2 separate regions of the Homo sapiens genome follow, and region 2 is linked to region 1. The links are contacts of gene promoters, found by promoter capture Hi-C in human tissues and cell types (Jung and others, 2019). All regions are on one chromosome and are shown on one strand. Each heading gives the region's core, a stretch centred on a gene start or on the middle of the fragment in contact. The rest is flanking DNA. Distances are from core to core; before and after follow the strand shown.

Region 1 (5,252 bases), core at 1,579-4,078:
TGGGAGGCTGAGGCAGGAGAATCGCTTAAACCTGGGAGACGGAAGTTGCAGTGAGCCACGATTGCACCACTGCACTCTAACCTGAGTAACAGAGCAAGACTCTGTCTCAAAAAAAAAAAAAAAAAAAGTTAGAGTTCCTAATACCTCCCAGTTACTGCTGCGGAGTGTGTGTTAAGGGGCTACAACCATTTCCCCCTTGGCCTAAACATCTTCATCAATTCGAATGGGGGCCATACGCCACAGTGCTGTCCTGTAACTCTATCAGCAGTGCTCCTGCTGTGGGAAGATCTCCTGAGTCTTCTGGGAAGTGCTGAAGGCACCAGGGGTGCCAGAGAGCCAGGAGGGCAAAATGCTGCTTCACCCCTGTGCCCAGGAGCCCCAGAGACCTGAGACTGCTGACTTCTCCATGCCTGACTTTTCCTTTCTAAAATGTGGGGACTGTGGGGGAGGGCCAGGTGCAGTGGCTTACACCTGTAAACCCAGCACTTTGGGAGGCCAAAGCGGGAGGATCACTTGAGCCCAGGAGTTTGAGACCAGCAACATAGTGCGACCCTGTCTCTACAAAAAGGAAAAATAAAAAAATTAGCTGGGCGTGTGGCACTCGCCTGTAGTCCCAACTACTTGGGAGGCTGAGGAGGGAGGACTGCTTGAGCCGAGTGGGTCAAGGCTACAGTGAGTTGCGTTTGCACCATTGCATTCCAGCCTGGGTGACAGTGTGAGACTCTGTCTGAAAACAAAAACAAAAATAAAAAAACCAGCTGGGGGCAACCTTCCTCCCCACTGGGATATTTAGAGGAAACAGGGAATGTAAAAAGACACTGCCCAGGAAAAAGCATCTCTATGGTCTACAGAATGACTGCTATGCTGAAGTTAGGCTATCTTCAGATGACTCTTCCTCCCAGTGTGACCTGCAGTGTTACCTTCAAATAAAAACATGGCAAGAAACACCCTTGATATACAATAGGGCCATGGATGGAAATATCTGGATACGGTAGAAATAGAAGAACCTTGTATTTTCTCACATAAAGGGGGTCACAGGACAAGCTGGAAAAGAAGCCAGACTTTGAGGTGGAAGACTCCCACTGGAATTGCTGGATCATTTAACTAAATACCCAACCTTGGCTATGCGCCCCAAGCTCTCTAAATCTGTTTCCTAACCTGGAAAGCAGTGCTGATAAGGCACGCATCTCACAGTGGGGCTGTGAGTAGGAAATGATGTAATTCAGTTGGAAGCGCTTTTTTCAAATGCTTTATTCAAATGCAAAGCACATCTGCCGCTAAGTCCAAAATGCCCCCTCCGGTTCTCTCAGCCCCTCCACTCCTATATTCTTCTTCCCCAGTCTGTTTCTCATCCGGAGACGCCTTTCCACCTATCAAGATGGGCTGATCTTCAAATTGCGACTGATTGTCCAGCAGATGTAACTATATTCACCAAACTATCTCTCACAATTGGACTGTGGGGGTGGTTGGTAACCGCATTTAATCCTGGGCTGACAATGGGACTGGATCCCTGGTTACACGGCCCTACGCGGTGGCCCTGCGGTAAACGGCCTCTCAGCCCAAACCCACCCTGGTTACTGAGCATGCCCAGAACTCCCTCCCGGGCCACCAAAGGAGGGGCACCATTTCTGCAGGATTTTGCCACTGTGGAAAGAGAGGCGGAGCTGTCATCGCGCAGAGGCAGGGACTGATACGCGGAAAGGACGTGGAGATGGGAATAAGCAATGAAGGACCAGCATTGACCGTGTTAGGCACACAAATCTAATTGCCCCCTGGTTACTTACCAACCCGGTGGCCGTGGCTCAGCTACTGCACACACACACCAAGTTCCTACACACCTTTCCCCTGCTTGGCCCCACACAATTCATGGCACTCACAGCCCACATCCTACCTCCTACTCCGCACCAGATGCGCACCCGCACTTACTCCCCAAACACGTGGCATCTGGTAACCCGGGAAACGCTGCGACTGTGGCGCAGTGCGCAACAGGGGCGGGGGAACCAGGCGGGGCTCTGGGGCGCAGGGGAAAGCTGGAGATTTGGGAAGGGGGTTTCAGTTTGTTTTTTCTCTCTTTTTTTTTTTTTTTTTTTTTTTTTGGTGGAGGAAGCAGAATAAACCAAATCGCGACACGTTCCTGCGCCCTTCTTGGCGCAGTGGCGCAGACACGGTCCATGGCGCCTTGCGCAATAGAGTCGGTCTGCACCCCGTCTTTAAGTCGTGGCCCTGGGCTGGAATTCCCGACTGCACTCTTTGCTACACCCCCATAGACCGCAGACCTGCGTCTCTCTCTATATTCCTCTCCCATCTGCTACGCCCCTCTGAATTTCTTCCCGCCATGTTGTGTGCCCCCCCCCCACTCCCCCGTCACCCCAACCACACCAAAGTGGATGCACGAAGCGGGAACCTTCTCGTTTCAGTCTCTGCTCCCTGCAGCCTGCCAAGGCGAGTGGACAAACTGAAGCTGGGGTGTCCAGCGTCTTGGCTGCCCCCCTCCTGTCCACCCTGCCTGTGCTATCCTTGCTCATCTTCAGTGCCATCCCGCTTCCCACACCCTGAGTAGCCTGGCGCCCGGCTTGTCCCCTTTTCCCATCCATCAGCTCACACCCAGGGTAACGGGGCGGGACCCCTATCCACAGTGCGCCCTCGCCCCCGGCCCACCTCCGCCATGCGGCGGGGCAGAGGCGCCTGGGCCAGGCAGGTGGAGGAGAGGGGCACTGGGGCTGGGGGCTGCGTCCTCCGGTCCTCACTCCGCGTGCCCTGCCCGATACTTACCCAGGCGCGGAGAGCGGTCAGCGGGCCCTCCGCTCCGCATCCATTAGCTGGTGGTCTGGCCGCTTCACTTCCGGAGCGCGGGGCTAGGGGCGGTGCCGCCCTCCCCTCTCTCTCTCCTTCCCTCCCCTCCAGCCCTCCCCTGAGCACCGCTCCCCTCCCCGGCGCCGCGCCCCGCCCGCGCCTCCCTCCTCCCAGCGCTGCCGGGAACTGGCAGCCTTTCGGCTCCCGCAGCCGCAGCGGACGCCCTCCCAGATCCAACTTTGCCGCTTCCCCGAGCTCGCGCTGTAGCCGCGGGGGGCGTGGGCAGGGAGGGGAGAAGCGGGGTCAGGGGGAGGGACCGGGAGGGTGGGTCGCCGGCTCGCCAGCCCTCCTTCCTTTCTGTGCACCTTGCGGTGGGCGGCGAACGGCAGCCGCGGCAGCAGCTAGGGGGCTTGTGCACACAGCGAGGGAGACTTAGGGACTGGCAGACGGACGGACGGACGGCGAGGACCCTACCCGAGCCCCCGAGCCATGGCCGAGAGAAAGCAATCCGGGAAGGCGGCAGAGGACGAAGAGGTCCCTGCTTTTTTTAAAAACCTGGGCTCCGGCAGCCCCAAGCCCCGGCAGAAATTCTGTGGCATGTTCTGCCCGGTGGAAGGGTCCTCGGAGAACAAGACCATCGACTTCGACTCGCTGTCGGTGGGCCGGGGCTCGGGGCAGGTGGTGGCTCAGCAGCGGGACGTCGCCCACTTGGGCCCGGACCCGCAGCCGCCGTACTCGCGGCAGGGCCGGCGCGCCGGCGGAGAGCCATCTGTTGAATCGGGCCGGAAGGTGGAGATCCGGAGGGCCTCGGGCAAAGAAGCCCTGCAGAACATCAACGACCAGGTCGGTGTGGGGGTTGGGGGTGGAGACGGAGGACGGGGCGCGGGGATCGCCCCTCCCTCGCCCCTGAGCCCGGCGCGCCCGCCTTCATGCCCCGCCCTGGACCTCGCCTCCCGCATCTGCACGCGCACCCCGCCCTACCCGCCCCTTCTCCGCGCAGGGTGCGGCGAGGCTCGGGCTGGGCGGTGGGCGGCCGTGCGCCCACAAAGGCTGCCCGCGTCTCCTTGAGCTTGAGAGGTGGGGCGTGGGCATAGGGAATGGGCTGATCCCCTGCTGGGGCGGGCGGTGGTCGTCTGGGAGGGGGTTGGCCGCGGTTCCATTCTTCTGAAACCCTCCCGGGCGGCTTCCGATTGCAGCTGCGGCTGGGTGCCCCACCCTTTTTTTGAGCGGCTCAGAGCGTGCGGTGGAGGCTTTGCGTGAAGGCCCGCGGCTCCCCGGTGGTCGGGAGGGGCGGGGGTTCGGACGGCCGCTCCCTACAGCCTCCGCCCGCGCCTTCTGCGCTCACGTCCCGAGCTCCGAGGCCAGGACCATGGTCAGCGCCCCCCGGACCCCCTCCGAGCACCGCACCGCCCTTGACTCCTGCTCGCAGCGTGAGAAGAGCCAGGAAGGCTGTGGAGTCACCCGAGGAAACCGAGACGCTCCTAAATAGCCTATGTGGGGAACAAAGTTCCAATAAGTGTCTCAGCCGGGGCTTCACAGAGCGCTCCCCAAACCGCTATGTGGGAGGCGCTTTAGGAAGCGGGGAACTAAGTGGATTATGTTCAAAGGGTCAAAAAGACAAGAAAAGGGGGAAAACCCCTCGCACTCGAAATAGACTGTCGAAGAAGACTAAACCCCCTTTTATTGTGTTAATGGGGGAAACAAAGGCCAATTTGGTCACGCTTGATTTTAGAAAATGTTTGTCACTTTCTGACAAATATGAACAGTGAGCATTTTCAGCGCAGTAATAATCTCACACCACAATTCTTTCTTTATCTGAGTGATCCTTACACTAGTGTAATTCTTTTCCACAGCCTTAATTTCTTAACTGATAATTTACAATGCAAAATGTTTTAACACGTTTTCCGTTTCTCTCCCATGCCTGCTGGTAAAAATAATAAGTCAATCAATGAATGATTGTTGATTGAATACCTATTGTGCGCCTTGCCTTGTAGGGCAGAGGGAAGGTTAGTTATAGAAAGTGCAAGAGGTTTCTTCTTCTCAGAGGGCTTCCAGAGTAGTTGGGAGTGGTCTATACATATTCAGCGAGGGATTCCACAAGCATTTACATTTGTGTACTTACAGTGACAGCCTTTGAGAACAATTCAGAATTGGTGATGATGGTTGGGGCATGATTTGACTGTTTGCTGATGTGACATAGAGTTTTGCAGCTTTTGACTTTTGTAGGGTCAAGTCTAGGAAAAACAAGGCATTTGCTGTCATTTGTAAAAGGTGACACAACTAATAATTTATATCCAACCCCAGCCCTGCCCTCTAATTTATTCATATAAGGGAGTGTCTCATATCCATATTTCACTATGAGTCAACCAGAAGAAACTAAATCCAAAAAACTTGCTTTGTTCCAAGTGATCAGACAATTGAAGTAAAAGTTTCTAATAATGTAACTTATACTGAAAGCT
Region 2 (5,252 bases), core at 854-3,353, 33 kb after region 1:
ACCTCACTTAACAATAAGTGATAGAACATCCAGACAGAAAATCAATAAAGAAACACTGACTTGAACAACACTATGGAAAAGATGGACCTAACCACCATATGCAGAACTTCTTATCCAACAGCAGAAGTATGCACATTTTTCTCAGGCACACACAAAACATTCTCTGGGATAGATCACATATTAGGCCACAAAATGAGTCTTAACAAATTTAAGACGTTCAAAATAATTCTAAGTACCTTTTTCAACCACAATGAAATGTAACTACTAACCTATAACAGCAAGAAAACAGGAAAATTCACAAATATGTGGAAACAAAACACACTCCAGAACAACCATTGGCTCAAAGAAGGTATCAAAAGGGAATTTAAAAAGTGTCTTAGCGAGGCGCAGTGGCTCACGCCTGTAATCTCGGCACTTTGGGAAGCAGGTGGGCAGATCACTTGAGGTCAGGACCTCCAAACTAGCCTGGCTAACGTGGTCTGGAGTTCAAGATCATCCTGGCCAACATGGTGAAACCCCATCTCTACTAAAAATACAAAAAATTAGCTGGGCATGGTGGCATGCACCTGTGATCCCAGCTACTTGGGAGGCTGAGGCAGGAGAATCACTTGAACCCGGGAGGCAGAGGTTGCAGTGAGCTGAGATTATGCCACTGCACTCCAGCCTGAGCAACAGAGTGAGACTCCATCTCAAAAAAAAAAAATAATCTCAGCATTGAATTTCCCTGCTCCTTTATCAAAGATAATTCGACTATATTTATGTGTGTTTCTTTCTGGGCTCTCTGTTTTCTTCCCTTGATCTGTTTGTCTTGACAACCATAGCTTTATAGTAAATCTTGAAGTCAGGAAGTATCTGACTTGTTCTACTCCTTCAATTTCACGTTGCCTATTCTGGGTCTTTTGGCTTTTCATATAAACTTTAGATTTCATTTGTTGATATCCACAAACAATTTGCTGGCATTTTGATTGGGATTTTGATTGTGTCGAATGTATAGATCCAGTTGGGAAGAACTGACATCTTGACAATATTGTCTTCCAATCCATGAACTTGGGAATATTTCTTCATTTATTTAGCTCTTCTTTGATTTTGTTCATCAAAAAAATTGTAGGTTTCCTTACATAGATCTTGGATGTGTTTGTTAGACTTATACCTAAAGATTTCATTTCGTGGGTGCTCATGTAAATTGTATTGTGTTTTTAATTATAAATCCCACTTATTCATTGTTGCTATACAGGAAAGCAATGGACTTTTGTATATTAACCTTGTATCTTGCAACTTTGCTACAATTGCTTATCAGTTCCAGTTTTTTTGTTGATTGTTTTAGACCTTCTACATAGATGATTACACCATCTGCTCAACAAATATCAAAAATATTAGCATTTTGGTGTATATCTTTCTAGAGTCTTTTAAAAATAAATTAGACACCTTTATATTTATTGTGTGTATATACACATAATTGTATGTAACATAAATGTTACATAATTGGGATTCAGTGAGAAAGCTTCTAGTTTCTTATCTGAGATGCTAGACTTTTATTCTCACAACAAGAAAAATCCTGCAGAGGCCGGGCGTGGTGGCTCACGCCTGTAATCCCAGCACTTTGGGAGGCCGAGACGGGTGGATCACGAGGTCAGTAAATCGAGACCATCCTGGCTCACACGGTGAAACCTCGTCTCTACTAAAAATTCAAAAAAAATTAGCCGGGCGTGGTGGCGGGCACCTGTAGTCCCAGCTACTCAGGAGGCTGAGGCAGGCGAATGGCGTGAACCCGAGAGGCGGAGCTTGCAGTGAGCCGAGATCGCGCCACTGCACTCCCAGCCTGGGCGACTGAGGGAGACTCAGTCTCAAAAAAAAAAAAAAAAAAAAAAAAAAAAAAGAAAAGAAAAATCCTGCAGAAACTGAAAATCAACAACTCTTTATCAGTCAGATGATTGAGGTCACAAGGCAAGACACTTCACCTGCAATTGGTGAGACAAGCCCATACACAGAATCAAAGCTTACTAGAGGCCAGGAGCGGTGGCTCATGCCTGTAATGCCAGCACTTTGGGAGGTCGAAGTGGGTGGATTGCTTGAGCCAAGGAGTTGGAGGCCAGCCTGGGCAATGTGGCGAAATCCTGTCTCTACTAAAAATGCAAAAATTAGCCGGGTGTGGTGGCACACACCTGTAATCCCAGCTACTCGGGTGGCTGAGGCAAGAAAACTGCTTGAACCCAGGAGGTGGAGGTTGCAGTGAGCCAAGATTGTGCCACTGCACTCCAGCCTGGTTGACAGAGAGAGACCCTGATTGAAAAAAAAAAAATTGCTTACTGGAGCAGAAGCCCACTGCAGCAGCAAGATGCAGATTCCTTTTACTCAGTACATTGTATCCACCCTTCAACAAAAAATTACACGGCAAATTGAAAGACAAAAAACAATTTGAGGAGACAGAACAAGCATCATAACCAGACCCAGATATTGTAGAGATTTTGGATTGCTGACAGGAATTTAAAATAACTATTTAACGTGTTAAGGCCTCTAATGGACAAAAGTGAAAAACATGCAAGAACAGATGCATAATATAAGCAGAGAGATGGGGACTTTAATAAAGAATCAGGACTAGCCAGGAGACCAGAGATGTAGCACCTGGAGCAGCATGGCCCAGCCTTGTGGAGTGCATCTGAGCGGGAAGGCCTGCAAGCAGGCGGAGGTCTTCAGGCAAAATCTTTTCCAGGAGGCTGAGGAATTCCCCTACAGATTCTTGCCACAGAAAGTCATATATCTGAATCAGCTCTTGCAAAAGGAGTCCTTCAATGTGGCTGATCTGACCTCCCTCTGAGTGCCACTGAAATCCCCATCCCAGACCCTCTATCCAAGGATGATGAGTTGGAAACAGATAAGCAGGAGGAGAAAGAAGTCTCCCTGGCATGAGAAGGTCCTTTTCCTGTTCCCCTGGATAAGACAGAAGTCTGGACTCTCAAAGAGAAATGCATTCTGGTGATCACATGGATCCAGCATCTGATCCCCAAGATTGAGGATGGACATTATTTTGGGATATCACTCCGGGAGAAGGTGCTGGAGAGGATAAAGGCAGTCAAGACCAAAGTGGTTCCAGACAACCACGTCCAAGTACTTCTCAGAACATGGAGATGCTGTGGCCAAGGCCTCCAAGGAAATTCATGTAATGGATTATTACCAGGCCTTGGTGCACAGGCAAGATGAGGCACCTATGGGGAGATCGGGGACACCGTGCTTGAACTGAGGGCTTTCTATGCTGAGCTTTATCATAATTTCAGAAGCAACCTGGAGAAAATTGTTAACCCAAAGGGTGAAGAGAAGCCGTCTATATACTGAGCCCAGGGCTAGAAGAGAAATAAATGACTTATACTTTGTGTGGATTAAAAGACAATAATCAAGGCCTTTTCCTCTCAGAAGTCCCCTCTCTCACAGTAGACAGAGAGCTGTTTTCCTATTTTTTTACCTATTAAACCTCCACTCCTAAACTCCTAACAGTAATAATAATAGTAATAATAATAATAATAATATTCAGGCCATGTGTGGTGGCTTATGTCTGTAATCCCAGCACTTTGGGAGTCTGAGGCAGGAACATTGTTTGAACTCAGGAATCCAAGACCAGCCTAAGCACTATAGTGAGACCTCCTCTCTTAAAAAAAAAAAGTCACCAGACATGGTAGTGCATGCCTGTGGTCCCAGCTACTTGGGAGGCTGAGGCAGGAGAATCACTTGAGCCTGGTGGTCAAGGCTGCAGTGAGCTGTGATTGCGCCACTGCATTCCAGCCTGGGTGACAGAGTGAGACCTCATCTCAAAAACAAAACCAAACCAAATAAAAAATAGGCCGGGCGCAGTGGCTCACGCCTATAATCCCAGCACTTTGGGAAGCTGAGGCGGGCAGATCATTTGAGATCAGGAGTTTGAGACCAGCCTGACCAACATGGGGAAGCCCCGTCCCTACTAAAAATACAAAAATTAGCTAGGGATGGTGGCAGGTGCCTGTAATCCCAGTTACTCGGGAGGCTGAGGCAAGAGAATCACTTGAACCCAGGAGGCGGAGGCTGCAGTGAGCTGAGATCATGCCACTGCACTCCAGCCCAGGTGACAGAGGGAAGACTGTCTCAAAAAAATTAAGTTAATAATAATAATAATAATAATAATAATCAAAAGGATATGCTAGAAATAAAGAAAACACTATACTAGAAATGAAGAATGCCTTTTATTTGATTGATCAAGAGGCAGGACCCAGCCAAAGAAAGAATCAGCGAGCTTGAAGAAATGTCAGTAGAAACTTCCAAAATGGAAATGAAGAGAGAGAAAACAATGAAAATGACGGAACAGAATATCCAAGAAATACGAGAAAATTACCAAAGATTTAATATATGTATAAAGGTGATATCAGAGGGAGCAGAAAGACAGAAAGGGACAGGGGACATACTGGAAGCCATAATGACTGCGAATTTCTCAAAATTAATGATAGCATACCACAGGTACAGGAAGCTCAGAGAACACCAAGCAGGATCAGTACTACAAAAATCTATCCCTGGGCATATCACATTCAAGCTGCAGAAAATCAAAGACAGAAAGAAAACCTTGAAAGAAGTCAGAAGTAAAAAGCACTTTATATATAGAGGAGCAAGGATAGTGTTATACCGGATTTCTCTTGAGACCCATACAAGCAAGAAGAGAGTGAAGTGAAAGATTTCGTGCTGAAAGAACAAAAACACCAATGTAGAATTTTGTATCCAGCAAGATTGTCCTTTAAAACTGAATGATAAATAAAGACTTTCTCAGACAAATAAATGTTGAGAGAATTTGTCACTGGTGACATTGCAAGAAATGTTAAAAAAAAAATCTTCAGAGAGAAGGAAAATGACATAAAAAGAGAGTTGGATCTACTTAAAGAAAGGAAGAGTGTTAGAGAGAAATAAATCAAGGTAAAATAAAGTAAATAAAGTATTTTTAAGATTCTTAATTGACCCAACAGATACCTGTTTGTCCAAAATAACAATAGAAACAACAATAATGTATTAGGTAGTTATAGCTTATGGGTAAATTAAATAAGGAAAAGTAACATTACAAGGGATGGGAGCATTGGGAATACTCTGCTGTAAGGTATGTGCATCACCTGCGATGAAGTGGTATAGTGTAATTTGAACATGGACTTGTTGTAAGTGTATACTGCAAACTCAAGGGCAATGACCAGAAAAAGCTAAAAAGGGACATAATTGATTTTTTGAGAGGTGAGAAAATGGAGTTACAT

Evidence for each region. Contacts are between HindIII fragments. The study calls those that stand out against the background at their distance.
Region 2: a fragment that was not itself captured here is called in contact with the fragment with the promoter of PNMA2 in region 1 in 3 of the 25 tissues and cell types used here (aorta, hippocampus and small bowel).

Annotation. Positions count from the first base shown.
Region 1 is chr8:26,511,044-26,516,295 of GRCh38, forward strand. It overlaps PNMA2 (PNMA family member 2), which reads right to left and starts at 2,829. Exons shown (of 3, transcript NM_007257.6): 1 at 2,773-2,829. It overlaps DPYSL2 (dihydropyrimidinase like 2), which reads left to right and starts at 2,988. Exons shown (of 14, transcript NM_001197293.3): 1 at 2,988-3,636. The coding sequence starts at 3,283. RefSeq lists enhancers at 990-1,284, 1,071-1,943. The HindIII fragment of the contact is 13,621 bases long and covers 1-5,252 here.
Region 2 is chr8:26,545,076-26,550,327 of GRCh38, forward strand. All of the region lies in intron 1 of DPYSL2 (dihydropyrimidinase like 2), which reads left to right. It also overlaps the pseudogene PSME2P5. Among named protein-coding and RNA genes, the nearest start is that of DPYSL2, 34 kb to the left of the region's middle. The HindIII fragment of the contact is 4,356 bases long and covers 1-4,281 here.